Linked DNA regions of Homo sapiens: regions 2, 3, 4, 5 and 6 are each linked to region 1. Evidence: promoter capture Hi-C in 16 types of primary human blood cells and fetal thymus (Javierre and others, 2016). All regions are on one chromosome and are shown on one strand. Each heading gives the region's core, a stretch centred on a gene start or on the middle of the fragment in contact. The rest is flanking DNA. Distances are from core to core; before and after follow the strand shown. Region 1 holds the start of CSNK1A1L (casein kinase 1 alpha 1 like). Region 2 overlaps POSTN (periostin). Region 3 holds the start of LINC00547 (long intergenic non-protein coding RNA 547). Region 4 has its middle 14 kb from the start of LINC00547. Region 5 overlaps LOC124903159 (a long non-coding RNA gene). Region 6 overlaps LOC124903159 (a long non-coding RNA gene).

The links. Contacts are between HindIII fragments. The CHiCAGO score rates a contact against its expected background, and 5 or more counts as called.
Region 2: a contact is called between a fragment that was not itself captured here and the fragment with the promoter of CSNK1A1L in region 1, in 1 of 17 cell types (endothelial precursors). The highest score is 8.4, in endothelial precursors.
Region 3: a fragment that was not itself captured here is called in contact with the fragment with the promoter of CSNK1A1L in region 1 in 1 of 17 cell types (endothelial precursors); the score reaches 5.5 in endothelial precursors.
Region 4: a fragment that was not itself captured here is called in contact with the fragment with the promoter of CSNK1A1L in region 1 in 1 of 17 cell types (endothelial precursors); the score reaches 5.1 in endothelial precursors.
Region 5: a contact is called between a fragment that was not itself captured here and the fragment with the promoter of CSNK1A1L in region 1, in 1 of 17 cell types (endothelial precursors). The highest score is 6.5, in endothelial precursors.
Region 6: a fragment that was not itself captured here is called in contact with the fragment with the promoter of CSNK1A1L in region 1 in 1 of 17 cell types (endothelial precursors); the score reaches 5.0 in endothelial precursors.

The regions. Positions count from the first base shown.
Region 1 is chr13:37,103,466-37,108,465 of GRCh38, forward strand. It overlaps CSNK1A1L (casein kinase 1 alpha 1 like), which reads right to left and starts at 2,199. Exons shown (of 1, transcript NM_145203.6): 1 at 1-2,199. The coding sequence starts at 1,791. The coding sequence ends at 778. The HindIII fragment of the contact is 4,821 bases long and covers 1-3,895 here.
Region 2 is chr13:37,580,460-37,585,459 of GRCh38, forward strand. It overlaps POSTN (periostin), which reads right to left. Exons shown (of 23, transcript NM_006475.3): 8 at 4,257-4,469; 9 at 3,510-3,644; 10 at 1,907-2,055; 11 at 102-238. Among named protein-coding and RNA genes, the nearest start is that of POSTN, 16 kb to the right of the region's middle. The HindIII fragment of the contact is 5,917 bases long and covers 1-5,000 here.
Region 3 is chr13:37,534,598-37,539,597 of GRCh38, forward strand. It overlaps LINC00547 (long intergenic non-protein coding RNA 547), which reads left to right and starts at 343. Exons shown (of 5, transcript NR_040244.1): 1 at 343-367; 2 at 1,218-1,254. The HindIII fragment of the contact is 4,935 bases long and covers 1-4,598 here.
Region 4 is chr13:37,518,365-37,523,364 of GRCh38, forward strand. No RefSeq gene overlaps it. Among named protein-coding and RNA genes, the nearest start is that of LINC00547, 14 kb to the right of the region's middle. The HindIII fragment of the contact is 1,302 bases long and covers 1,398-2,699 here.
Region 5 is chr13:37,486,810-37,491,809 of GRCh38, forward strand. It overlaps LOC124903159 (a long non-coding RNA gene), which reads left to right. Exons shown (of 4, transcript XR_007063761.1): 4 at 3,618-4,024. Among named protein-coding and RNA genes, the nearest start is that of LINC01048, 4.5 kb to the left of the region's middle. The HindIII fragment of the contact is 810 bases long and covers 1,861-2,670 here.
Region 6 is chr13:37,412,516-37,417,515 of GRCh38, forward strand. The region is part of intron 2 of LOC124903159 (a long non-coding RNA gene); the gene reads left to right. Among named protein-coding and RNA genes, the nearest start is that of LINC01048, 70 kb to the right of the region's middle. The HindIII fragment of the contact is 1,761 bases long and covers 2,155-3,915 here.

The DNA.
Region 1 (5,000 bases), core at 949-3,448:
ACAAAATCCCAGATCATATGGGTGTTTACGGTGATTACATTTATCTAAGCCATGTACATACATGTTCAGTTGTAAGATGTTAACTAAATTTCTGTGACAAATATGGTTGTTGTTGTTTTTAAAATACCGAGAACATGATATAGTTAATGTGGAATTCTAAAGATAATCTGGTAGTTACTAAGATTTTCTTATGTCTTCACAGGTAAGCAGGCGGAATCTTTCCTATTCTCAAAACTGGAATTTTTGGTTACTACTAGATCAGCTGGCTTACAGACAAGAAGCCAACCATTTTAAGAATGCTCTTTATGTGAACAATTTGCAAACCCCAGGGATGGAGAAACCCTAAAAATGCTCAATCATAAGCATTTACAACCTTTGCAGCTGTGGCTGAATACTGTCCTTCTGAAATGATATCTCAAAGCAGTCTAGTTCAAAATAAAAGGTTTTAACAAAAAATTGGCATATGGACAATGTCTCCACCAATTCGTGTGTGTCAACCATTTAGTTAACTTTTCTACTTGAATAAATGCAATAGAAAACCAGACACCACGTTTCACTACCTCAGTTAATATTCACAATTACAGAGGCTACACTTTGGGATACAGCATCACCAACGCTCCCCAGAGTCAGTTTATATTGAAATAAAGTTTTTTACACCAACTAAATGGTTGTTCACAGCCACTAGCTGGTGTACATATGAACTACAATTTCTAGATGTGGGGAGAAACAAATGCTGCTCGAATCATCTGCTCTGCTTCTTCTGTTCCTCATTCACGCTTAGTTATCTTTCACATTATTCTTGTTTTTTTCAGTTTGCTTGCCTGTCTGGGTTTGGGCCTGCTGACCCTGCCCACTGGAAGAGGCTGCCTGCTGTGCTGCTTTCTGCTTTAACATCGTCCAATCAAATGTGTAGTCATATTGGTGGTTCAGGGTCCTGAAAAGAATGCGGAATAGCTGCCTCAGATACATGTAATCTGGGACTTCCTCAAAGCGCAGCCCACGACAGTAGTTCAAGTACATGGCGAATTCTGCAGGAAACCCCTTACATAAAACTTCAACAGGGGTGGACATCTTCTTCTCACTAATCTTTTCATATTTTTGTTTTTTTGTCATAGCCCTTAGTCCTTGCCACGGCAGGCTGGTTCTATTAAAATACATGAAAACGTAGCCTAAGGATTCCATGTCATCTCGGCGGCTCTGCTCAATACCAAGATGTGCATTGATGCTGGCATATCGGACAGTGCCAATGAGGTGTTTATCTTCTCTGTACGGTATGTGTTGCCTGGTCCTGTTGTCTCTGTACTTTTTGGCCAAACCAAAATCAATAAGGAACAACTTATTACAGTGACGCCCAGTACCCATCAGGAAGTTATCTGGTTTAATGTCTCGGTGTAGAAAATTCTTTGTATGCACGTATTCAATTCTGCTGATCATCTGGTCGGCTAACATAAGTACAGTTTTCATGGTGAACCTTCTTGAACAGAAATTAAAGAGGTCTTCGAGGCTGGGTCCCAGAAGGTCCATGACTAGCACATTGTTGTCTTTTTCCTGACCATACCAGTGCATGTGGGGGATGCCAACCCCACCTTGAAGAATCGTGTAGAGTTTGCTCTCATACAGCAACTGGGGGTGCTTGACCTTCTGAGATTCCAGCTTCACTGCTACGTCCTCGCCGTTGGTGGTGGTGATGCCCAGATAAACGTCTCCAAAGGAGCCAGACCCGATCTTCCGCACCAGTTTGTATTTCCCTCCCACAACGAGTTCGGCTTTGGAGCCGCTGTTGTTTGTCATCCTGAGAGGCAAAGATGGAGGCTGGGCTCAGCCCTGACCCCTCTAGGGGAGGATGGAGGCCTCCGGGGCCCACCGGCCCGCAAGGCTGAGGATGAGGGCTGCTGGAAATGGCCACCGAGGCGTTTCCCGGTGTTACAGGGCGTGGAGTCAGCCTGATCCCTGCAGCACACCAGGATTTCCGCCAGGCCACAGTTTGCGAGGGTTTCTCAAGGTTCCAGGCTGGGCCACCACCTCTTTCTCGGTGGCGGTCGCTGCCTCGCTGTCGTGGCGATGTCGTGGGCTGAGAAAGGGGGCACAGCGAGTTGGGGCAGCAGTACTGCTGCCACCGCTACCAACGGCTGTGGGCCAGAGGGCCCGGTCACGCCGCCGGCGCCGCCATTTTGTTCCTCCACCTCAGCCAACCACAAATCGAGAATTTTTGGAGAAGCTGTTATTGTCTGAGACCTCTGTTAGGTGTTCCACTCATCTCACTCCATTTAAGACAAACTTGCTAGTCTTGTAAGGTAGCTATTATTTTCCCTGATTTGTTGGGTAAGAAAGGCTGAGTCTCAGGTAAGCGGCCTAAGGTTGCAAGAGATTGTGGGCGAGCTGGAATTCAAAACTGCCTAGGCTTAACTCGAAGCTCACCTTCTTTCAACTTAATCGTGCAGAAATGGGAGGCTTTTATAACAAAGATTTTCTTGTTTTCGGGCCCAGTCATTGTCCCATCTACTTCCTTAGCCATCATGTCTCCCTGGGTTAATGCGAGTCGGGGTGCCACCTCTTGAGGTTTTTCTGTGTGATCTCAGTGGTTGCTTCTTTAATGAGTTTAGTCAACAAGAGTTACTTACTGCTAGTTAAATTGAAATGTCTTTTTTTTTTTTTTTAAAGCGATCCTTTTGAAATTTTTTCATAGAGTGCTTTGAATTTAAATAGGATTCCACAGAGACGTTCTGGCAAAACTGACTAAATGAAGGATTCAAGTAAAATTTAACCAAAATATGGAGAAGAAACAGAAGCCGGCAGTTCTGAGCATTTTCTCAGAAGAACTGGGGCCAGCACTAGCAGAAAAAGCGGTACCATTTCAATATTTTTATGAAAGTTCACATCACAAATAACAAAACCCGTGCGATTATTTTGTTTTATGAGGAGATGGGATAGGAACTGAGTATAATCCTAACGGGGCAGTAGCAACGAATTTGGGGGCCAATGGCAGAAAGGCAGGAGAGAGAGGTGCAGCTTTGAAAGCAGGTATTCTCACTTTACTGTCTCACATAAGTTAGTGCTGTTAACTTTTCTGACCTGCATCAATCTATGGCGAGAGAAGGAGCTGGTTTGAGACATAGACGGGCATAGAACATTATAAAGTGCTTTAAAACATTTTTAAAGTCCACTTCAGACAAATATGTGAGGTGGGTAGCGCAGTATATTACTTGGCTTTGCAGCAGGAACAACTCGCAAATCTCAGTGGCTTACAATGACAAAGTTTATTTATCATTCAGGTTTTATGTAAGCTGTAGATCAGCTGCATCTCTGCTTCCTGTGTCCTCTTTGTTCTAGAATGCAGGCTGAAAGAGCAGCCTCCTTAGGAGCATGCTGTTCTCATAATAAAAGGAGTGGCAAATGTTACATTCCACTGGGCAAAACACATCACATGGCCAGGTCCAAAGACAGTGGGGTGAAAATACATACTCCTACCTCAGGTGGATAGTAATACAGTATACTGCTGGCATATTTTATTATTATGATTGTACTTCTCATTTTATACAAGTGGAAATCAAGGCATAGAGAGGTTAGATGAATTGCCCAAGACCACACTACAGACAAGTGTCAGAGGCCAATTTGAAACTGAATTCTGACCCAAGGTAGTTACTTTTTATACCGTACCAACTAGAATGGCATTTCTTTCATTTACTCATCCAACTTTGTTGAAATTTGCCTGGAGAACAATTTCCTTTCTAATAACCAAGAATAAAATTTATGTTGTTAACCCACTGCCCATTATGCTTCCTTCCCGTTCAGTCTTCCAGTCAATGGCTTCAACACGAACCTTGAAATTCAAATAATCTCTATGTGAGAGAAGTCACTATTCAAAAAAGTTACAGATAACCCATACATGGACAAAAGCTTGAATCAAAAAATCCCCTTTCAATTCTGGAACTAGAATAGTTTAATTATAGTTTATTTATTGTTTACTAAGTCCCATACTTTTTTGTACCAGTTAAATAAAGGCACTGTCTATAAAGAAGGTCAAGTGTAACTTATAATGGTGGTTGGGTGAACCTTCACTTACAGGGAAGTTGTGAGCATCTCCAGAATGGGGAGGATCAGTAACTGAAGTGATGATATGACCCTGAATAGCTTCCAATCCAGTCTCCCATGAATTCTCTTACCACAAGCCGGTGGGACTGCGGATTTTTCCCCGAACACATACTCCCTGCATTTTTTCATCTTTGGGTCTTGGCTTATGGTGTTGTTTCCTCAGCCTGAAATGCTTCCAGCCTGCTTTATCTTTCCCATCGCCCAGGTCTAATCCTAATAATCTCAGGGCTCTTCCTTAAATGCTGTTTGCTCCATGAAACCTTTTCCAATCTCCTCAACCAAATATAAATACTCTTTTTAAACCCAAACAACACTTTGCTTAAACTCTTGCATCCCCTCCTACCCTTTTGTCCAAAATTTTTCCATAAAAGATGTGCAACAAATAGTTTTTAAAATGGAAGTAAATTGAACTACTGTATTTCATAAAGTTTTGTGGACAGTGTGTGGGGTTGATGCATTCTTTATTTATTCATTCATTCAACAAATAGTTATTGAATGCCTCCTATTTGCAGGCATGAGTGACTCACCAAAGGTGGCATAGGTAGGTAATGATGGATTCAGAATGGAAATCCAGGATAGCCTGCCTCCAAAGCCAGTACTTTTAACCCCTACATAGACATCAACAGCCAGAGGCTCCTGAACGCTGGGTGGCTTCACTGTTGGGAATATATTAGTTCTGTTTCTTTTCTTTAATTGTATAAAGTATTTTACCAATGCATTTTAAAGCTATGATTTAGCCTTGATTTCAAAATTGCCTCTAAAATAATTTCTATTAATATAAGATGACCCCAGTAAAAGTAAAATAACGTATTCTGGGCAGGATTGTACTGGGTAGTATTGTACTGTTTAACAGCCAATTCGGGTTTTGTCAGTCCTGAACTTTATACAATTTTTTTTGTGGCCCTCTT
Region 2 (5,000 bases), core at 1,046-3,545, 480 kb after region 1:
TCAACCACATAGGAGACTGAATGCCTTTTGGGATACCGCCTATGAAACAAAAATATGCCAATAGCTCTCATTCTCTGTGGAGGTGCCACTAATAGGCTTACCTAAAGCGCTTATCTTGTTTTAACTTTTCATGGAGGGATTTCTCTGCTGGCTTGATGATCTCGCGGAATATGTGAATCGCACCGTTTCTCCCTTGCTTACTCCCTTTCTCCATGCATGAATTTTCAATGCAGACAGCCTAGGAAAGGAAAGAAAGGTATGGGGTGTCATTTTCCTTGCTTGAAATTTCCCGTATAGATGTAACTACATAATTAAGTTTCCGGATCGGCCCTTCTGAGAGGTTGCCTGGTGTCTGAGGCCACGGGAACAGCTTCTTTCCTCTGTTTTCAATGGCTCACACAAACTCACAAGACACTTCTTATCTAGCCGGGTTTTTTATTAAAAGTCAAGCTACCTTATGGATCAGGCAGGTAATTTTGTCAATAAATTACAAAAGTTCCATGGAATCCCACTTCTACATTTTTTATAATTTCTATTCAGATTTGAACTATTTCTCTAGACCCTCTTTTGGCCAACACTATCTGTAAGGTTTCCTCACTTTAGTGCTTTTAGTGATCTTCACAAATATTTACTTTATTTTCTTGACTGTAAGACCCTATTCATCATTGTAAGTCAAATCATTGACATATTCATAGCTTTTTGAACGAACGTGATATATATATACACACATATATTTGTATATACAAAATTTAAAGTGCAGCACATTTAATGCATACTTAAAAATGTTTGGAATTTTGTAGCTGCAGGGAGCTGCTGACATGTGCCAGATTCAGTTCTAGGTAATGCCTGACTTCCTGTGAAGTCTTTTAGTTGTAGCTGTACGTGTTATCTGGACAAATACTGAACGTATCATTAGTTGAACTGTAATTTTGATAAGCAATATTTCTATAAATTTTCCTGCAGCAAAATGTATGTTAGGGCTGGGTGCAGCGGCTCATGCCTGTAATCCCAGCACATTGGGAGGCCAAAGTAGGAGGTTCACTGGAGGCTGAAAGTTTGAGACCAGCCTGGGAAATGTAGCAAGACCCTGTCTCAAGAAAAATTAAATTAAAAAATTAACTAGGGTGATGTTGTGCACCTATAGTCCTAGCTACTCAGAAGACCGAGGTGGGAGGGTCCCCTGGAGCCAAGGAGTTTAAGGTTACAGTGAGCTATGATTGTGCCACTGCACTCCAGCCTGGGTGACAGAGTGAAATTCTGTCCCTTAAAAAAAAAAAGTACATTAAAACCCTTTTTTAGAGTCCAGAAATCTCTATGTGCCAATAAAGGTTTATCTTGAAAGCCATTCAAAAGATATTCAGATGCTGACTGGTTATTTTACAGTATAAGATCACCTTGCATATTTGATTCATTATAATGAAATGTTTTGAAATGAAAAACATTTTAGTAGAGACAGCATAGTGCTAACACATTGTATGTGTAGTCAATGCAGAAACTAATCAACACCTTGTAAAACATTTATTATTTCTTATTGCAAACAATCATCATAAAGAAAAATGGTGTGTAGGCAGAGAACAGAATTACCTTGAAAATTGTAAAGTACTCTGCAAAGGAAAAGTTTATTTTAAAAAATTTACTGCTTTCTGGAATTTAAAATAATTGATGCTCTAGAATAGAAAGTTATTCATAATGAAACACATGCAAAATATCTATCTGAGTTTTGAATACATAGCACTTGTTGTGGACTTTGCTCACAGTCTTTTCACCCAAGCTACCCAGTTCCCTGATGCTTCTATGAATATTTACTATTAGAACCACACTCATAAAATTCTGTGAAATATTCATTGAAACAGCATTATTTGACATGTCATTTGACAGACTTTTTATTTTGTTGTGATTCACTTACTGTACGATATACGAAGACTCTGAGCTGTTTGCCTCCGATGGTTTCCAGTATTTGCCCGTTGTAAAGCTCATTAAGGCCAACTTTTACTTTCAATATGTGATTCTGCAGAATTAATTTAAGGAGGCGCTGATCCATGCTGAGAGTATCATCTGTAAATAAATTCATTAAGAAAGAGCATTATTTTATTTAGAAAACATTGAAGTTTCTCCCGGTAAGACAGAATCATATAAACAGATAATCCCTGACATTATTGATATCATGGATTTTGCACTCATATAATACATGAATCAACCAAATGCTAAAAACTAACAATTCAATTCACCAAGTAGAAACTCTGTGACCTATTGTATTAAATGACAATAATACAGTTCCAACCAGTTCAATCAATGAGTTTCACCTCTGTAAGGGCTACATAGTTTTATAGTGGTCACTGGCAAATGCTAAACCTTAATGGTGGCCAAGGCTTTGTCTGATAATTAGATATCTGTTAGTCACATGAAAGAACTACTGATGAATCCTTTGTAAATTAATCTTGATTACTGGAAAGAGAATCAAAGCAAACAACCTCTTAAATATGGGTTATTGTCAAAACACATGGGCAGGATTATTACAAAGAAGAAAGTCAGGATATCTAGGAATTCAATTTTTTTGATTAATAGTTTTTATATCACAATTTAGCATTTGGAAAAACAAAAAATTGTGTTACCTATTTTTAATTAATAAATGTTGCCTAACAATTTAAATATGTCTGTGAAATCATTTTCCTGAGAAAGGTCGAAGGTTGCATGAATCTGAACATGGTCTGTGAATAGCAACTACTAGGTGAAATATTTATATATACTATTTTACATCATGATATGGAAGTGTATAAGTCTCTTCATTTTATTTATTTATAATTTGACACCCTTACTGTCCAAATTTTGAGATGCAAAACACACCTATTTATTTCTAAATATTATTATGTTGGTATCAAATAAAGAAATCAGTTTTATTTTTTTAGAGATCTGTCAATGCATCCTTATTGTGCTGGAAATATTAGATTCACAGAGAAACTAAATATGCTTTTTTTTAAGTTTCGTTTTTTTTTTTTTTTTGAGACGGAGTCTCACTCTGTCGCCCAGGCTAGAGTGCAGTGGTGCCATCTGCTTCCTGGGTTCAGTTCAATTCTCCTGCCTCAGCCTCCCGAGTAGCTGGGATTACAGGAGTGCACCACCACACCTGGCTAATTTTTGTATTTTTAGTAGAGATGGGTTCTCACCATGCTGGCCAGGCTGGTCTCAAACTCCTGATCTCAAGTGATCTGCCTGTCTTGGCCTCCCGAAGTGCTGGGATTACAGGTGTGAGCCACCACGCCTGGCCTGAATAGTCTTAATTACAAATTACAAATTTCACTCTCTGTAGGCTATTATCCATTATAATGAAATGTTTAGAAATGAAGAACATTTTAGTAGAGACCATGTAGTGTTAACACATTGTATGTGTAGCCAATGCAGAAACTAATCAACACCTCCTAAAACATTTATTGTTTCTTATTGCAAACAATCATCATAAAGAAAAAAAGGTGTGTAGGCAGAGAGCAGGAACAACAGTGTCCAGCACATACCAGAAAATGCATTATTCACAGGTGCCAGCAAAGTGTATTCTCCATCTGGCCTCAGAGCAGATGCCAAGCCTAATTGGGCCACAAGATCCGTGAAGGTGGTTTGCTGTTTTCCAGCCAGCTCAATAACTTGTTTGGCTGAAAAATAAACCATCACCATCACAACAATGTCATCATTGCTATTATCTCCATCATGAAACTAGTAAATCAATTCCTGACTCTTTTCTAATATTGTAAGCTATTTACTGCAATGTCAGTGTGATAAGACATCCTCCTCCTCCCTAATAAGAGAGTTCCACTTCCATTTTTTGGTGGGAGTTGATAATCACGATAAATTTCAGAAGGAAAATATTTTTCTGTCTTCCTACTACATGTTTCTTTAATTCTCTATTGTTCATCTCTCATCTTTCTCTCTATACTGTGAGTTCCATAGCTTTTCCATTTATCCAAAGCTGACCATTTGGTTAGATCTTTCCTTCTCTTTCCAAGAAAAACTCTGGCACTGTGAAAACGGTTATAAATATTAGATGTCAGAAACCCTAGAAAGCCAAAGATTCATGCATGGAGTTCCCATCACTACACTGCCTATCTATGGAGTGCTCAAGTAGCTCACTATTTATTGTGTTAGTGCTTTGCATGCCATTCTTTATACTGCACATTCATTTTTCATGGACTTACTCTTTGAGACAGCATAATTAGTAAATTACAGTAAGTAAAAAAACAAAAACAAAAACAAAAAAAGTTGCTTACCAGAATCAGGAATTAGGACCTGATCAATCAAATGGATCACACCATTATTTGTCACAATATCCTTTTTGTTCACCATTTTGATTCCATTTACTGTTATACTGTCACCGTCACATCCTATCTCAATTGTATTTCCTTCCAGCGTCTCAAAGACTGCTCCTCCCATAATAGACTCAGAACACTGGAGAGTATTTAAGATGTGGTACTTCATAAGAGCTGGAGAACACAATAAAAACAGGTAGCTTTCAGATCAAGGGAAATAACATTTGACCCTGAAAAGATGTGTTTCACTGTGGAACTAAGTATTCCTTAAAATGTAGTAAAACCTAAGGATTCACTAACAGCTTTAAAATCCTATTTATGTTCTAAAAGTTTTTTCCTATCAACTATAAAATAGAAACAGCTCAGCTTCGTAGGAATAATAAGAGGAGATCAGCTTCAGGAAATGATTGGTGCAGTATTAGAAAACGTGGTAGGTTAAGTTCCAGCTATCATAAAAAAGTAACTCCTGATGTGAAAGCAAGAATTGTTCCTTTCAGAGGAACTTTGACTGGCACAAGGGCTCACACCTGTAATCCCAACACTTTGGGAGGCCTAGGTGAGAGGATTGTTTGAGGCCGGGAGTTCAAGACCATGATGAGAAACACAGCAAGATCCCTCTCTACCAAAAGAGAAAGAAAAGGAAGGCCTGTGAAATTCCAAAATACCCAAGAGCAGTATCTTGTAATAGCTGCTCATAGCAGAATA
Region 3 (5,000 bases), core at 881-3,380, 430 kb after region 1:
ATGAAATTCAATTTGCTTCATTTTAAAAATCGTAGCTCTAGAATTATATTATTCAAAAGATGTTAAAAATTCTAAATATTTTACTGTGGTTTTATTCTGTTTTTCTATAAAAAGATGGTATGTTCTCTCAAAAACCAACTATTTAGTAAGCATAGCATTATGACAAATAATTCTGAAAATGACAATCAAGTAATCAAGTTCTGTAAGTTCATGACCTATAAACAAATCAGAATGAGAAGTTTAAATATACTCCTTGTTTTCCCTTGCCCTTAAATGGTAATCTGAGTTTGAGGAATAACTTCTGAATGTATTTATAGCAGGCAGATGGTTCTGTTGCCTACTGTTAGTTTGGAAAGAATAGAAGAAGGTATAGATAGGTGACTGGAGAAGGAAAACACTTTACTAAGCCGACATGAATAGAATGCAGATTTTTTTAAGCCAAATCAGTTTTGAAAATGTATATATAAAATTGTGCAAAAGAATTTCTCTAGTTTTTTCCTGTATTATTTAATGGTTGAAGGCTGTAGACTTTTTTTTTTTTTTTTTTTTTTTTTGAGATGGAGTCTCACTCTGTCTCCCAGGCTGGAGTGCAGTGGCGCGATCTCGGCTCACTGCAAGTTCCGCCTCCCGGGTTCACGCCATTCTCCTGCCTCAGCCTCCCGAGTACCTGGGACTACAGGTGCCCACCACCACGCCTGGCTAATTGTTTTGTATTTTAGTAGAGATGGGGTTTCACCGCGTTAGCCAGGATGGTCTCGATCTCCCGACCGCGTGATCTGACCGCCTCAGCCTCCCAAAGTGCTGGAATTACAGGTGCGAGCCACTGCGCCCGGCCGTAGACTTTTTTTTTCTTTAACAGTAAAAATATACCACTTCAAAACTTGCAGTCACAATTCTAGCTGGATTAGCCAAACCATATAGAATAACGTTTTTTTTTCTTGTTTTTTTTTGTTTTTGTTTTTAAAAACCATGGAATTTATTTTGAAGAAAATATGGTTATCATTAATGTTACTTTTTATTTTCTTCCAATCTCCTATCTGATTCAAGTAATGAATTTTAAATTTCTGTTTAGTAAGTTTATTGCAAATGTGCCAAAATTTGACATCTGCAATTCTTAGCAGACGCTATGTTAAGAAAAACAAAGTATTATTTTAATTGGGTATGATTTCAGGCTCATAAACAAAATAATGAAGTATTTTTTTCCTTTTGCTTCCCAGGAATAGATGTTCACCAAGACCAGTAGTTCTCAAACAGGTGAGCATATTAGAATTGAAGTTCACTTGGGAAACTTCTATAAATTGTAAATCTTTTCCTTTCTCTCTCCAACACTCTTTCCAAGTTTCTTCCAGGTATTTTGCTATATCTCATGTTCAGCACAATTGCCAGCCATTGCAGTATGTTCTGGAGCTACAAGGTCCATGAACTATTACACTTGCCTCAAAGACTTCTAGTTTCTTTCAATTCTGATAAAAAAATAAATGACATGATACAGTGGGATAAGTGCTATTATGGTAAAATGAACTTTATGAAGACAGCCTCTAAAACAAATTTGTGGGTTAAGACAACTTATCAGAAGAAGTGAAATCTAAGTTGAGGGTTGAAAGATGACTGTAAGTTAACTAGTTATAAAAGGGGATTTTATGTTTGAGGGTGTATGTATTTAGGAGTGTGGTTTGAGTTTGAAGATTGTTGCAAAGAACATTTTAAGCAAATGTGTATTCTAAGAATATGCAAAAGTATGAAGGAAAGAGTCAGGATATATTGAATACATTATTGTAGTTTGGAAAAATGGTGCATGATTAATGAAGTGAGAGAAGATATTTAGGAGATTGAGGCTGATTATAAAGAGCTGGAGGAAGGAGTTCACCCTTTATCCCGAAAAGATAAAGTGAACACTTTAAATAAGAGACATCATATTTGTGATTTTGAAAAATTATTGATAGCAAAGAAGCAAGAGGCTGGAGGCAATTAGACACTAATGTAGTGTCTTAGAAAATACCTGAAAGTGAGTAGTTCATAAAGAGCAGAAAACTATTTTCCCACCATGTTGGAGTCTGCAGAGTTCAAGATCAAGGTGCCAACAAATTCAGTTGTCTGGTGAGAGCTGCTCTCTGCTTCCAAGGTGCCTTGTTGCTGTGACCTCGCATGATGGAAGGTGGAAGAGCAAGCTAGCTGAACATTGTATAAAGTCTCTTTCTTTTATAAGATCTTTAATCTCATTCCTGAGGAAGGAACCCTCAAGGCCTAATCAACTCTTACGGTCCCCACTTCTTAATACTTTCACATTAGCAACACCTGAATTTTGGAGAAGGCACATTCAAACCATAGCATGCAGTAATCCAGGTGAGAAATTATGGTAAAAAAAAATCATGAGAGTGTTAATGAAGAAAAGATTATGGAAACAAAATATTGAGTCCATATTTGCCTCATCTGGATGTGTGGAAGATTTTAATAAGATATTTTAGATATATTTTTACTCTACCACCCAGAAAATTTTCCTGAACAGTTTATAACATGAAGTATCTTGCTTCATGTAATACTTATAATTTATATATTTTAATGAATTATTTCAATAAAAATATTCATATGTTTTTCTTTAAGAAAGCACCTCTCATGATTCCTTAGCCCTCTCCAAGTACTTCCCATTTTCTGTTCCCTTCAAAGGCAAATTTCTCAAAATTTACACTGCTGTGATTGTCTTGCTTTTCCTTTATCTGTTAATCCACTCTTGGATTCTGCTCCCAATATTTCCCTTGCCAAGGCCCATAATGACATCTACATTGGAATAATCAGTGGATGTACTTCGGCCATCATTGGCTCACTCTGTTCTGGAAACATTTGCTTCCCTTGAAACTATGACCTTGGTTTTTTACCCATCTCTTTTGCTTCTCTGTCTCAATCTCTTGTCCTAGATGTTCCTCTTCTTACTAATCTCCAGCTACTGAAGTTCTTCAGGGTATCCATATATCTTCTTTCTTCTCTCTAATTTGTCTCCTAATCTAATTAATTTTTTTTTTGAGATGGAGTCCTGCTCTGTCGCCCAGACTGGAGTGCAGTGGCACGATCTCAGTTCACTGCAAGCTCTGCCTCCAGGGTTCAAGTGATTCTCCTTCCTTAGCCTCCCCAGTAGCTGGGACTACAGGTGCCTGCCACCACGCCCAGCTAATTTTTTTGTATTTTTTTTTTTTTTTAGTAGAGATGGGGTTTCACCATGTTAGCCAGGATGGTTTCTATCTCCTGACCTCGTCATCTGCCTGCCTTGGCCTCCAAAAGTGCTGGGATTACAGGCGTGAGCCACCGTGCCCGGCCTAATCTAATTAATTTTATAATTCCAAAAAATATCAGTGTGGCTATACATGAACAGATTATAGCTATTCTAGTTAAATTTTCTTATTTGAATTGTAAATTCTTGTGTTCAAAAACTTATTTGATATATCCATTTGATTGGTTGTAAAGATCTCAAGAGTTTACAGAGGCACTAATCCTATTTACAAGGGCCCTATCCCTATGATCTACTCACCTTCCAAATGTCCCACCACTTAATACTATCACATTGGGGATTGGATTTCAATACATGAATTTTAGAAGGACACGAACATTTGGAGTATAGCAAGAAACAATAGTAATCTACTAAGCAGGTAATAGCTTGTATACACCTCAGTTTGTGACTTAATATAGATGTAGCAGTTCTTCAGAAATTTGTCTTTGGATAAGAAGTTAAATCTTATGTTTTGGGTGACTGTTGCTAAAAATAAATTCCAAGTACTTTCTAAATTAGGAGAGATAATTCCCCTTTGAATTATATATTCCATTAAAACATTTTAGAGCTGAAAAAATAAAAGAAATAGATAACAATGAGCTTTTTAGATCACCCAGGCATAAATAAAGGATACTCAGCTATAAAAATGACTAAACAAGGACTTGATGATTTTTCATAATTGATGTATGCTACTTGTATTTTCATTACTTCATATGCTACTTGTATTTTCAGGAGTGCTGTGTTCTAAGAGAATAAATTTTGGTTTAAAAGATTTGAGAATATGACTGGGTGCAGTAGCTCACGCCTGTAATCTCAGCACTAGGAGGCCTAGGTGGGAGGATAATTTGAGCCCAGGAGTTCAAGACTAGATTGGGCAACATGGTGAAACTCTGTCTCTACAAAAATACTTGGTGACATGTGTCTTTAGTCCCAGCCACTCTGGAGGCTGAGGTGGGAGAATCACTTGAACCCTGGGAGGTTGAATTTGCAGTGAGCTGAGATTGTGCCACAGTACTCCAGCCTGGGTGATAGAGTAAGACTCTGTCCCAGCCAAAAAAAGAAAAAAAAGATAAGAGAGTAAGAAATTAGAATAATTTTATGACTTACATTTCCTTCCCTGGATCAAGGAAAACTGTTTAAAAAAGCAGGGAAGGCAGATACAAGGGGCATTAGGTAAAGAGGTTATTGCTGCATAGGAGGGGAACACATCTACAGTGACAGATGAGGAGGCAGCTACATTTCACCTCTTGAGAGAATATCTGAACTATTATTAACCCACTTGATACCTAAGAACTGAGTTTTACCTAACCATATATGTTAAAATACTATCACACTATTAAGCTTCCCTGTTGCTCATCCAAACCTGACTATCTCCATGAAACAATGGACTCTCCTAATTACTTCCCTATATTATCATGCACCGCCTCTCATGACATTAACACAGAAGTCCTCAACATGTTACAGATTGTTGTGCACTGCAGTAGCTGTTTTATGTGAGACATCTGGGTCTTGGTAAGTTATGTGCATTCTTATCACCACATTCTCTTGCCAGAATGACTGGTCCAAAGAGTGAACACGTAACTGGTGGAAGATCAATTGCTCTCCCTTTTTTTGGCATTGACATATAAAACAATATTTTCATCTAGGGTTTATGGACTGAGATTATCAGTAGCCATGTTCCATACCCTAGGAACATACAGAGACAAAACAAAACAAAATAAAAAAACAAAAATCTAACTAG
Region 4 (5,000 bases), core at 799-3,298, 410 kb after region 1:
CCATTCTGAGGACAGGGATGGATTCTGGTTTTGTAGGGCTTACAGTTTCATAATATGGAGTGATCCTTTGTAGTAAGGACAGGGTCTTAGAAGTCTGCACAAATGAGATGTCTTAAAGCTTAAATTTTATTAACTTTGCAGCAAATATGCCTCTTCCTGGGATTTGCATTTTATCTTGTTTTTTCCTGCAATCAGAATGAAATGAAGATTCTTATATATGGGCATTTTCCTCACTTAGAATTCTGAAAGGATTTTGTTTTGCTTTGCAAGAAAATATTGAATTGTGGCTTTTCTTCCTACAATGTTATTTGCTTTATTAATATCAAATTTACTCCCTGCTGTTTTTTCAGTGACTCTAAGAACAAAATAACAATAAGTGTAATATTTTGAAGATATTTTAGACGCAATTATATCAAGTATGTGTGGGACTAACGGATCACATAAATAATGGCATAGATATAAGCAAGTTCACACATGTGAGATGTGAGACAGTGACAATTTCACCATAAGAGCTGCCTAGGTGATAGTGATTATAGTCATCATTGGTTATGAGATGCTTCCTGATTTCAGGGATGTTAAAATATTGAAGAATATGTACAAGTTAGAATTGATGAAATATGATAATTCTTTTGTGTTGGATTTATAGTTTGACTTTTCTATTGAAACTTTTAAGTTTTAATGATTTTTTTAGAGCTTCATTGAGATATAATTTTCAACTCATAAAGCTCACTTAAATATTTATGATTTAATCATTTTTAGCTCATTTACAGGCTTGTGCAAGCATCATCATAATATAATTTTAGAATATTTTTATTATCCATCAAAAAAACCTCGTATCCATTAGCAATTGCTCTCCCTTTCCCTTTCTCTCCCAGATTTAATGACTATTTTATTTAAATATTTTAATTTGTTTTATTTACATACACACTTGTTTTATTTTGCCTATTTTCATTTTATAATTTGTTGCTTAAATTTAAAAAATAGCTATTTGAGGACCCTACACTCTGATTGACATTTCTTGTCCATTTGAGAGGAGCGAGTCTTCTCATTGTTAATTTTGTTGGCTTTCTTAGCATTAGTTTTCATCACATGTTTTGAGATACGGGTGAGTGCGGGACTATGTTGTCTTAAAGTTTGTTCTTCCCTCTCCCTTTTTCTTTGAGCTCATTCTCATGTCTCTGTTGGTCTTAGAAGTTACGTTTTGATTGCCAGCTTCATGCCCCATCTGAAAGTGATAACAGTATTGTAGACCTAGGCACTGAACCAGTGGGTAGGTTGGCTCAGGTGTATGTTGTGAAGTTACTTCTGCTTCTTCTAGTTTATAGACGTAGATTTACTTATGCCATAGCCTAGAAATAATATGGCCAGTTGGTTTAGCAACTTCTTATGAAGAAGGAAGCTTTACTTCAGTCCCTAGTATTAAACACTGGGCCTGATTCTCACTGCAATTTTAGTACTGTTATCCATAGAAAATGAATTTCTGGCAGCTTCTCCTGCCTTCAGACCTAGAATTGACCTCAGCAGACATGGATGCAGCCCTGCCTACCATCTTAAATGTTTATTCAATTTGTTGTCATGATTATATTTATTGTATTTTAAATCGTATTTATATCTCTTTACTTTTAAAGATGCCATCTATTAATACTATGTATGTCACAGTGTGTGTGTATGTATGTGTGCATATGGGGGTTATTTGTATCTGATGCCTCAAAGCAAGACATTAAAAGACTATTATAACTCTAAATCAGAAAAGTTTCTAAGCTGTCACCTGATCCTGGAGCTACAGGCTTCTCTCTGATTGCCTTGGGAATGTTTTAGATTCCCTGCTATGCTGTTGCTATGTTTAAACAATTTTGTCTTTGATTTTTTTAAAAGTCTAGTTTTTAGTTTCTGGTTTTGGTTTGTCAAAAAATAAAAATCTGATAAAATTTTTTATGTGGGACCTAGCAGGCATAATTTTGTTGCTTTAAAAATGACTATATCAGTAGTATGTAGGATGCCTTAAAGTGGAAGAATGTAAGGTTAGAAAACTTGCAAAGATGTTGTTGTATTAGTCTGAATTACTAAGGATATGGAAAAATTATTAGCAATGAAAGGGCGACACTGAATATCAAGAGAAATGAATGAATTATTAGCTATCCTAGCACTGGAAAAGATGATGACAATTGTCTAATTCCCACTTTCTCTACGATTTAATTCATCTCTCCTAGTTTATGAGTCTAATTATATTAAGAACAACAACAAAAAAAGACCCAGCCCATAGAAGGTGATTAAAATTAGAGAAACTAAGAAATAGACACATAGGATCCAGGATTGAAATCAGGTAATCGGGTTTCAATATCCAATTCATTTCACGATTCAATGAGGCTTTAAAACATTTTTATTTTTTGAATAGAACCTCCATGGAACAATCTAAAATGCATTCTTTATTCTGTCACAGTATCCTGTCACATATGAACGATTCCCATGACCCTTATCAAGTTATTCTTTGTCTTAGATGGTTTCCCATTTTAGGACATTGATGTCAGCTTCATGGGTGTAAGAACACTGAACAGACATGTTAGAACATTTTATACCCGGGATATTGTCATTTCTTGCAGAGGTATAAGTCAACCTTGCCCTGGAGACTAGTTTTAGAATGTTATGTGTTCTGTTTTGTTTTATTTTTAGGAAAGTGAGATCAAGTGGCAAAGCTATTAAGCTTTGCTCATTACTGAACAAAAACTAGAACTCAAGTCTCTTTGCACAAACTTTCTGCAGGGGTTTCCTCCTTTAGTTTTGCTGTTTTCTCATGGGGAATATCTTCTCCTTTCTGACTAAATCTTTCATGTAACTCATCCTGATAATGGTAGCCAAAATTGCTTTTTCTCATTCTTTCCTATTCTTACTTAGGTAGCTAATGAATGTTTTGGAGTTTCATTATGACCTCTCCTATTATTTAGTAGACTTTCATATTTGTCTTGTTTGCACCTAGACTGTCATACACATTAACTTTAGATATCACTGCCTGCATTAAAATGCACTAATTTTAGCATGTAATTTGATGTCTTTTGACAAAGTCCAACCTACTGTTATTTTTTTTCTTTTATGCATCATGTTTTTGGTGTTGTATATGCATCATAATTTTTCTCTTATGTTTCCTTCTAGTAATGGTTCTAACTTTGTTGAAAAGACTTCTTTTTCTATTGAACTAACTTTGCAACTTTGTCAAAAATCGGTTGTCTATATTTGTGTTGTTGGGTGAACATTCATTTATGCTTGATACATCTTGATGATTTGATATCTTTATTATATCATTATGAAATGTTCCCTTTCATCCCTGGTAATATTTTCTATTCTAGTATCTTCTTTGTTTAGTATTTTTTTAAAATAAATTTTATAGTGCATATTTAAGCTTTTGCTTGGTATTAATATAGCTGCTACAGCTCTCTTATTATTAATGTTTACATGTTGGAGCTGATTATATCCCTGTGTTTTCACCTAGGTCTATGTGTGTGTGTGTATGCATGCACACACGTGTGCAGAGTTTAAATTTATATTACAGCAAATACTGAGGCCTTGCTTTTATGACCTGACTGATGTTCCAGACTTTACAATTTGCATCTTTAAATTATCACTGTATATCTCCACATAAGAATGTACCATTTCACATATATGGTAAGAACCTTGTAACAGCAGTCTCCTGTTTCTCCCTCTCTTCCTTTTTGCTGTTGTCGTCATGTATTTTACCTCTTTATAAAAATGACACAATACAATGTTTCTAACTTTTAAGCAGTTAATCATATATTAAAGGATTTAAAAAGCAAGAAGATAAGTCTATTGCATTTATCCATGTATGCACCATTTCCAGCACTTTTAATTTCTTTATATAGATCCAAGTTTCTATTAAGAGTCATTTTGCTCTTGGCTGTATAACTGATTTATGATTTATTGTAGTGTAAATCCGGCAACAAATAATCCCAGCTTTCATCAGTCTGAAAGTGTCTTTATATAGTATTCAGTTTTGAAGGATATTGTTTTTGGCTACACAATTCTAGCTTTGCTTTCTCATTTTCTTTCTACTTACAAAGTTTCTCATGAAGACTCAGTGGTAGTTTTTAAAAAAATATTCAACTTTTAAGTTCAGGGGTACATGTGCAGGAAGTGCAGGTTTGTTACACAGGCAAACGCGTGCCAAGGTTTGCTGCACAGATCATCCCATCACCTAAGTATTAAGTCCGGCATCCATTAATTATTCTTCCTGATGCTCTCTCTCCCCCAACCCTCCCCAGAAGACACCAGTCTGTGTTGCCCCTCTCCATGTATCCATGTGTTTTCATCATTCAGCTCCTATTTATAAGTGAGAACAAGTGGTATTTGGTTTTCTGAGCCTGTGTTAGTTTGCTGAGGATAATGGCTTCCAGCTCCATCCATGTCCCTGCAAAGGACATAATCTCATTCCTTTTTATGGCTGCATAGTATTCCATGGTGTATATGTGCCAGATTCTGTGATAATTCCTATAACCGGTTTTTTTTTTTTAATGGTTTTGACTGATGTAAGGCTTTTTTCATTACCACTGATTTCCAGCAGTTTAATTGTAATGTATCCTGGTGTGAATTATTTTGTCTTTATTCTGCTGTGGTTGATCTTATTTGATCTATAGGTTGATAGTTTAAACATATTTTTAAAATTATTATTATTATTATTAATTCAGATAATTTTTGCCTACCTCTCTGTCATTGACACATACAGATTTTCTGAGGTGCCAACTACATGCATGTTAGGTCACTTATTTTCCCACTGGTCACTGAAGCTCTGCCCATTTTTTCCCATTGTTTTCTCCCCTTGTTTTACTTTTGTTAGTTTCTACTGTTATGTCTTCAAATTCAATGATCTATTCTTCCATAATATCTAATCTACAATTTATCCCATCTAGGAATTTTCCATTGTGGACATTTGTTTTCATTCTTTTATTTTTAAATAGCTTGCATTTCCTCGTAACATTTTTCTTTTAAATCCT
Region 5 (5,000 bases), core at 1,016-3,515, 380 kb after region 1:
TATATCTTAGGCTGCCTTCATTGAATAGACAGATTTTAAAGGAAAAATTGGCACTCACTCAAACAATAAAATGGTAGTATTAAGGAACCTTTAAGAATTAGGATCCGGGAGGCAATGTTCCATTATTTCATCATTTAAATTTATTTGGGTTTTTGGGAATGTATGAGTGAGTTTACACCCACTTTCATTTCATTTCCGAATTTGAAGATTGAGCTTTACAAAGAGGTAGTGACTTACCTCAACTCACACAATGAACTTCCCCAAAGAGGTGTGGTTGGAATTAGAGCTTGTTCTACCCACGCCAGTGTTCACATAGCAAGTGTGCTCTCTAATAGCTGATATTCATATAGTGTTCGGTAACGGCCAGTTTCCACATACATCTTTTCTTTTAATCACACTCATATTGTGTGACAAGCATATTCTCTTTTTATGGACTAGAGACCGTAGATTACAGGCTACTGCAAAGCAGGGATCTTGTCTACTTTGTGCACCATGCTATTCATATGGCCTGCTGTGTTGTAAGTGCTGGACAAGTAAATGAGGGAGAACTTGTCCCACAGTTCAGAAGGGGTGCTGTGGCCTTCTATCTATAAATTGTTATTAGACCTCTGCTCAAACATTTTCAGTGATGAGAAATTCATTGCCTTCCAAAGCAGCCATGGTACATATCCTTTCTTATTTTAGTTTAGTTTAGTTTAGTTTTGCCTGTTTGTTTTTGCTTCACAGCTCCTCATTGCCTTCTCTTCTACTCAGAGTGGTTCTGTTGATGTCAGTTATGGTTGCCGGGCTCTTAGGGGCAGACGCATAGCCTAGGGTAGGCCTTTCACAGCATCCATCCCCCATCTACAGTCACTGGTCCAAGAAGTGACCACTTTGGGAACCAGTCATGGTTCTCCATCACACCTGTCAAGTGGAAGATGAAGGAGAAAGGGCCACTTTCTTCTTTTCTGATTGCAAACTCTGGTAAACCCAGTGCTTCCAGAGGCCCTCTTTGCTCTTGTGTATCAAGAGACTGCCTGAGAAAGAAACCAAACACAAGACAAAAACCAAACAGAAATGGACAGCATGATGGCAGCTATTGAAACCTCTAAATCCTCTGTTCCTAGAGCTAGCTCCACCTTTGGGTTTCTCAATTGTGTGGTTAATACCTTTCTCTTTTTTTCTCTTTTTGTTTTACTACTTATAAGCAAAAGAGGTCTAACATGACTACCCATTCCATGATGACACAGTTTGGACTTTTGAAACATTCTTATGTGGATCCCAGATCCCCTTTATAGAGACAAGAAGAACAGGTGTAACTCTTTCATGTAACAGTGTTTCTGACACTTGGAGAAAACTACCCTCTCTTTTCCTCAGCTTTTGCTTAAGTCTTCTGTCCAGGTTCTGCACCCTATTTTGTCAACTTCCCTTCATGTGATGTAGTGTCCCACACCATCTTAGTTGCTAACATTTCATTACATCTCCATTTGCCCACAGCTATCTTAATATGAGGGAAGATTAACACAATGTTCAGCAACATAACATAGGATAATAATTTTCTTTCTTTCATACATTGTAATTTTTCACTGCTCCTGAAGGTCTCATTGGCCTTTTTAAATATTATAATACATAATTGACTTGAAATACAAGTGTTATGAATTGAAACTCTCAAGCTTGACACATTTTTTGATAATAAAGTATGTCTCCCATAACTTTTAATAATTTTGTTCTTTTTAACTGATTTTACCTTTATTTCAAATTAACTTCCATTTATAGGTAGAAATGTTCCATATTTTATACTCATTGGTTTTTATGTTGGGTCTATCAGAAAATGAATTTGCTATTTCCTTTCATTTTATATTTTCAGAAAGCTATGTTTAAAGCTTGTGTTTTTAAAATTTTTATTTATTTATTTACTTGTGATAGCATCAAGGAAGTTAAACATTTCTATGGCAGAATGCTATTTGGAAGTCCAGGATAGTTACTTAATAGTTTTCTTACATGAATGTAGTGTCTATTTATTTGTGGATCTTTTACTTTCCTAAATCTTTATTCATCTTGAAGCTCTGGTGACTATTAGTATAAAGAATGTGATTTTCATTCAGTTCCTGTCTGAGACACTAGAAAAAAAATGGTTTCTTTGCTTCATTTGCCAAATATTCTGCACAGTGCTTATTTTGTATTTTTTCCCATATTAAGTGTAATACAAGACTCATTGGCACATTATAAATAAGAAATTAATGCTGAAAAGGAAGCCACTTCCAAAAGCAGCATTTCCCCAGGAAATAAAGAAGAGGTGAGATCAGTACCCCCAGAGAGTCTACAACTGTCTTCTGTCTGTTCCCCTTCTTCTTTTACAGGATAAAATGAAAATTGAGAAAGAATTCAGATAATTGAGACTAAAACGTGCTGCCTTAGTTATTTCAATTTCTCATACAAAATGTATGCTTGGCTTGAGGTATATTATTATCTTCCATGTTTTAGTTATAGTCTTACTGAATTGTACAAGAAGGAAAAAGGTTAAAAAATTAAAGTGGATTGCATGTATATGTGTGTGCCTAAAGGCATATTGATAACATAGAAACATAAATATGTTATAGAAAAATTATACCATGAGGATCAATTAATGTATCAAAGGGAAGGTAATGTTATGATGATTGATCAGATTCATTTCACTGTGACCCAGATTAAAGCTTTTTACTATTAACCCGTGGCTTCTGCATTTACTGGGGTGGATTTTTCCTTTTTGTATAGCTGGATAGGAACATTTTCATGTCTTTTCACTTTAAATTTGCTCAAACAAAGCACTAAACCAAAAATGATACAGATTTAAATGAAGATTCTGTAGGAGAAAGAGAGAGGGTGAAACCATGTACCACAAAACCTTGTCCTCATTAAATATTTTTATTTTCTGCAAGTTCTCACTGCCATCATAACAAAACTGCTGGTTTTCGTTATCCTCCCTTTGGTCACTCTGTATCCCTTCTTACTGGATCCTTTATTTTGTCATTCTTATTTTTCCTCAGAACCTCAAATCCTCCATCTTTTCATATACAGGGCAATTTCTTCACAGCCTTTTGTTAGTCAGGAAGTCCTTTTCATCATAATTGGTTTATTTTAGCTTCGAAATCTTTCCTCTAAATATGCACAAGGCTTTCTCTGAAAGGGACTTTGTTTTATTTTTCCATCTTGTTACAATTTCCTCCATCACAGTACATAATTCTGTAGTTGAGGATAGTTGTGAATAACAATTCAGAAAGCAGGAATTGAAGCCTATTTCTCCAAACTCATTGATATTATTATCCTGTAACTAAACTCTAAGAATTTTAAGAAATGTATCTCTATGGGGTCACCTATAGCAGTAAAACATCAATCATCAATAACTTTTATGTAGGCTTTGCTTAATACATTGTAAACTTTGATCTCATATTATTTTCTAGGTATAAGGGTTAAAAATAAGTGCCAGTCTAGATTTTGCTGAAAATAACTTCTGTTTTAATATCCTGTGATTTTCACCACAATCATTCCCTTCATTGCCAAACAATGAATTGGCAAGGATTCTTGTTCAATTGAGGTTTAATGGAAACTGGTTGCCTTAAGAAGAAATTGACTTATGTGCATGATGTGTTCATTTGCAGGCAGCTTCAAAGATCACCAACTGTAAGAAACAGGAAGAGACTTTGAAGTAGATAACTTCTTGTGTTTTTTTCACATATTCCCTGGTGGAATTTTAGTTTTGTATCATGCTTTTCCAAGTTTTTCTCCAGATGTTGTATAGTTTTTTGTTTTTGTTTTTTTTTTTTTTTTTCCCGGAAAAGTTTAGACATCTTGTACACAGACATCAAGATCTAAAAACGGAGGCGCCAGCTCTATTTTACAAAAATATCTGATAGTATCTTATTGAAGAATGTTGGAATCATTCAAGCGACTGCTTCTATCCAGTTTCCACGCTGTCTGAAGATCCTCCTTGAAATCCCATGTAACCTTTAGTATAATGCCCACGTTAAGAAAAGTGGGTCAGTGATTAAAGACATATTGAATCATGTTTCTGGCTTTTTGTGTTTATAAATTATGTATATAATTATAAATATAGTATTTATATAAAAATATAAATGTATACATGTTTATATTTATTATAAATTATTATAAATAATCAGTAAAACATCAGTGGACCAAACATTCTCTGTACAATTAATTACGCAGATAATAGAGTACCTAAGAATCTCTTAAAAAATGAGTGTAACATATGTTTGTTTAGTACACAGTCTGTAGAAGAGAGTTGTTGGTAATGTACTGTGGACTGGGGTCATATTGCCGGTTCCCATGCATTTTCCTTGGAAGATAAAGACAGCGATCAGGTTTCAAGTCATTCAAGACAGAGACACAAGCAAAGGCACAGATATTTGAAGGTAAATAAATAGGCAAATTTGACTAAGGAGGATGCTATGCTAGTATTTGTTATAGTATTAGTGTTAATATAAGGTTAATGCATGTTAGTTAGAAAGAAATAATGCAAAATTAATCTTCTTCCTCTCCCATTTGAACTATATAATTAAATAGTACATTCATCTTAATATTCAGGTAATATTTAACCAACTCAGGTTAGTCATATTAATAAACCTATCACAAGCTGAAAACAAAATCAAGAGAAATCAAAACATTGACTTTTAACTCCAATCTTATAATTACTTTAAAATATTCAAACAGGAGGCTTTGGGAAAGAGAGTGACTTGTATTTAAATGGGCATAGTAAGAGTGAAAGAAACAGAGAGTACTGCTCTGCCCCAGGCACTGTGCCAGTCATCATGCCCACACTAACTAGCTTACCACCTGATTTAGAAGCCGCATTAACCAACATGAATGGGTTCTTACCCTTGGTGCCTACCTTTGCCTTGCCAGGACATGATGGACAGGGCCCTGGGAAGCCTCTGAGAAGAAAGTGAGGACACAACACACAGTTCGCTTTGAAACTATAGACAAGGTGTAGCATATGGCTTTGATTTATTAGTATATGCTTGTAG
Region 6 (5,000 bases), core at 1,785-4,284, 310 kb after region 1:
ATTAACATTCATGAGCAATGATGAGGCATATGAATAATTATTAGAAAATTGTGCAATTTAAATGGTTATGTCAACTAAGTGATACAAATATGATGATAAATTTATAGATGCATTGCCTCTGAGAAAACAGCACTAAACATATCTGAACTTTGCATTTGACCTGGTGAATTTAAAACCCCATGGAGATCCCAGATAATATGGAAAATATGTATAACTTTAGTTCATATGAATTCCTATGTGCCTAATGATGATTTGTGTTTGAAAGAAAAAATGTGTTGGAAAGAAAAAAAGACTTTTCCACCAGAATTCATAAGGTTTTATGTCAGTATACATAATAGTTGTTGCTATAGAAATTTTATTTGTTTTACTAAAGTGATTTTCAACATTTTACATTTACGCAATAAAAGCTGCTATAATGGGTTTTCTTCCTAATACCTTTACTGCATTAAAGTATTTACATATAGTCATATTGTATGTTTTTCTTCCTAAAGAACAGTATGTAGATACCGTCCCAAAATAATACCTTATTATTAGTTTCTAATTGTTTTATTTCTCACTCAGAATTTGGCTATCATAAATATTGTCTTTGCACTTGAGAAAGTTAACTGGATTGTATCTATATGTCAGTTAAAAACTACTTTTGAGTTCTTATTTTTTCTTCAGGGAGAAAAAATGTAATCATATAATCTAGAAAGAACAAACCAGATGGGATTGATAGACAATTACTGGGGCAAATATTTCTAATGTCTGACTGGAATATCCTTCCTCTTCACTCTCCAGCTCAATTCCTCATTCTTTAACTGGCAAATCTTTATTCTTTAAAACAATAGTACCATCCTGTTTGTGCGGTAGCGTCAGCCCTGTTTTGCCCAGGCAGTATCCATTGCCCTGTTCTTATCTCCGGTATAGGACATTCACCCCATTGTTTGTTGATGTCTATTTGAGTTCCTTTAAGTTGTGATCACTTTGAGGGTGAAAAGTGACATCTTTATATTTGCAAAGGGCAGAAAATGTTATCATATGTTTGTTGTACAATAATATTTTTAAGTTACTAGTGATTAATTTCACTTTTCTAATCCTAATCATACAATTAGGTAGGCAGGCTAGATTATCTCCGTTTTACAGATCAAGAAACTGATGACCAGAATACACCTCTGGCAGACGTGGAAAACCATGCTCTGATTCTATTTCTACCACAGGATACAAACAATCTTTTAGTAGTTGTCTGATTACATTGTGATATCAATGTTATTCTTACGAACTGTTCTTTATACTTCTTTTATTGGAAATTCTCATTAGAATTTCTTGACCACTGTGATTTTCTTTTTATTTTCGCTTCCCATTTCCACCAAGGATTTTATCTTTGGTAAATTGTTTCTATATCAACTTGAGGTTTAGAATCTTGGATGGGAAAAAATATCTTTATTTTTATTTGTCTCTAACCATAATTTAGCATCTGTGACTGGTTACTGGTATAAAACACAGATTTCATTTAATATCACTGCTGTTGAAGCTAGCTTGAAAAATGATTTATATTCATCAGTGCTTTGAAATTATGGTATTTATTAGACCTGCTAGATCCCTTTATTTAATGTATTAATAAAGGAGACTGTATTTTATTGTATCACAAATGTAATTGTTAAAAATATTGATAGCTTTATCATAAATGCTTCTCATTTTAATCTTATGTATTTTATTTTTTAATTTGAAAACATTATTCTGGGAAGGGGACTAAGTTTCAAGGGGTCTATGATGCAAAGCATTTTATTATTATTATTATTATTATTATTGAGACGGAGTTTTGCTCTTGTTGCCCAGGCTGGAGTGCAATAGCACAATCTTAGCTCACTGCAACCTCTGCCTTACTGCAACCTCTGCCTCCCAGGTTCAAGTGATTCTCCTGCCTCAGCCTCCCGAGTAGCTGGAATTATAGGTGCTTGCCACCAAGCCCGGTTAATTTTTTGTATTTTTAGTAGAGATGGGGTTTCACTATGTTGGCCAGGATGGTCTCGAACTCCTGACCTCAAGTGATCCACCCGCCTCAGCCTCCCAAAGTGCTGGGATTACAGGCATGAGTCACCATGCCTGGCCTAAAGCATTTTAAAGAATGACTGCTACAATGGAAAACCAGTTTCACAGAATCCTTCCCTTTGAAGCTTCGTGTCCAGACATTCCATCATCGAATCTACTTTCTTTTTTTTTCTTTTTTTTAGTGAGTGGATGAGACTGGGTAACTGTAGTGAAGGCTGCGATGTGCCAGTTAGGTTCCCTCCTTCCCCTGAATAGGACAACTGCTCTCAGCTGATTCTGGCGGAGAGTTTCCTTGGCTGAAAAGAGCCACCTGGATGAGGTCATGCCCCCTTCTGGGACAAACTGCATTCAATGACTGTTGTGAAGGGGTCCAAAGGCCTGGCTCCTCCCTTCCCAAATGGGGGATGATTCTGAAGGGTCATGTATCTCCAGAGCTCCCTCTAGAATGGGCCTAGTGAGACCTTTGCTGTAATTGCAACTTCCTTTTCTGTGGAGTGTTTCTTCACTTCCCATGGTAGTTGATCCTGAAAGTACTTCCAAGTAGAGTGCCACGTAAAACACAATTAAATTAGAATTTCAAACAAATAATTTTTAGTAGAAGCATGTCCCAAATATGACATGGGACATAAAATATACTAAAAAAATTTATTGTTTATCTGAAATTCAAATTTAACCAGGCATCCTGAATTTTTGTTTGCTAAATGTGGCAAACCTCCCCTAGCACACAAATATCTGTCTCAGAGTTTACTTCCCAGGTAACCCAACCTACAACAGCAGGTCCTTATGATAGTTAATGACAGCCAGGACTACAGCTAGGGTGGGCTGAATCATACATAACCCTTTCTGAGTCCTCTACACACTGCCTTCTGTGATGTCAGGTAGGAAAACAACAAAGGACAATGGGGTGATAATGAGTAGACAAATATTCACTAGTTTGAGGATACCTGAGATTGGGGAAATCTGTCATGTTAGGTATGAAAGTGACACTATCACTCATTTCAAAAACATCCTTGGAGCTGCATGAGGCATATGTGAAGAGTGTTAAACATAAGAGTGTACAGAGCATTTAATATAACTTGCCCAAACTTCATAGCTTTAGAGCAGGGCAGAATGTTGTAATTGCTTTTACTGTCACTATCTACACTAGTTATACCAAGAAACAGTAGAGCTTGGTGATCATTTAATTTTTAGCATGCAACAATAAAAGCATTATTATGTTTTAAAATTGTTTTAGAGATGAGGTCTTGCTATGTTTCCCAGGCTAGACTCAAACTCTTGAGCTCAAGTAATCCTCCCACTTCAGCTTCCTGAGTTGACTACAGGCTCACAGCACTATACCCAGCCCAGAAGCATTATTTTATCTGTATGAAATAGAACACAAAAAGTTTAGGGATTCTAGTTCTACTTTTGCTTACCTTTTAAGTGCTCTGGCACTTTGAGAAACATAAAATATGGCAGCATGCTACTGGAGGTTCCACCAATGATTAAAGACCTTGCTAAGAGGTCATAGACTGAATATATATTAAGGAACATCTCACCTTTCCAGGAAGGCTTTTTGCTGGTGGTTTCTGTTACTCTGAAGAATGGGGATGGGACAAGGGTAGGAAAGGGATATTGAAGTATGATGGGAGTAATAATACTTTCTGATTTCCAACATGTAAAAACTGAATTACTCTTTTAATATTTTACAAGAAGAGCCAGGACATATATTCAATAAAATAAATGTACTCCATTTTTTCTTCCTGAAGCTAGATTTAAAAAAAACTGTGGAATCAAATGTCTCTGGTATGCTGTCTTTTACACATCTTCATGTCACAGAGTTCAATAAATTGCCCATAATGACAGCCTTTATGATTTTAATGTCTGTGTAAACATTCCTTTGGAAGCTTTCTCAAGAGTATCTTTCAACATATGTTAATGTTTGCCAACAGAAAAAAAGAACAAATTATTTAAAATAACATATTTGGATCTTAATTCCCCTTGTTATCTTTGACAATGACACTTGTAAAAAAAAGAAATCCCAGTGTAACAAATGACTTGAGTTGTGTATGAGTTAAGGGCCCAGTTATGAGCTTCATTCTAAACCTAAATAATAATAAATAATGTTTTATTTAATTACGTCGTTGGTAATACTTATTTCTAGAAGTAGTTTTCTATGAGTTTCTGTATTCAACTTGGCATGTGGAAATAAATCTGAGATTATTATTTTCTCAATTTTTATTAGGTGGTTTTTCAAACTAAATGAGGCAAGAATCACATTTATAACCCTTGAATACTGTTTAGCTTCCTTCTGGACCAAGTAAGCCCATTTATTTAACTACATAAATGGGAAACAGCTTCAAGTATTAACTTTTTGCTTGTTAAGTGTTAGGACTTGACTGCAGAGAATTGTTCCATCCAGAACTTTAGAGAACAGTGTAATCTATCACAGTTAGACAGATGTGTGTGTGTGTGTATATATGTGTGTGTGTGTGTATGTACATACACACACACTTTTATTAAAGAAAAACAAAAATCACTTGGTGAATATTTTCAAATCCCTAGAAGTGAGAGAATTCTATGGGAATTATCTGCTCTGAAAACTCAATATGTTTAAGCTACACAGAATTGCTAAATACTTGTCCATCAAGATTAGTTTTCAGACAGGGTAATGGTCTTAGCCAATACTATGCACTATGTTTCACAAACTAATACATACAACGAACCATGCCAATTACAACTTCCGGCTAAGTGAATCAGTGCATCCTGTCTTCAAAGTAAACACTTTATGTATCTATTTTCAACATGTGTGGAGATTCATAACACATATATCCCTTCCTGTAAACCCTATGATTAGTAATAAAAACCGTTTTTTCCTGTAATATAACAATATAGGAGTTAATATAAACTCTTTAGCACAAAAACAGACGAATCTACACATTGTATTTTTCAAGGCACATAGAAAGCACTCGCCAGTCAACGTGGATGAG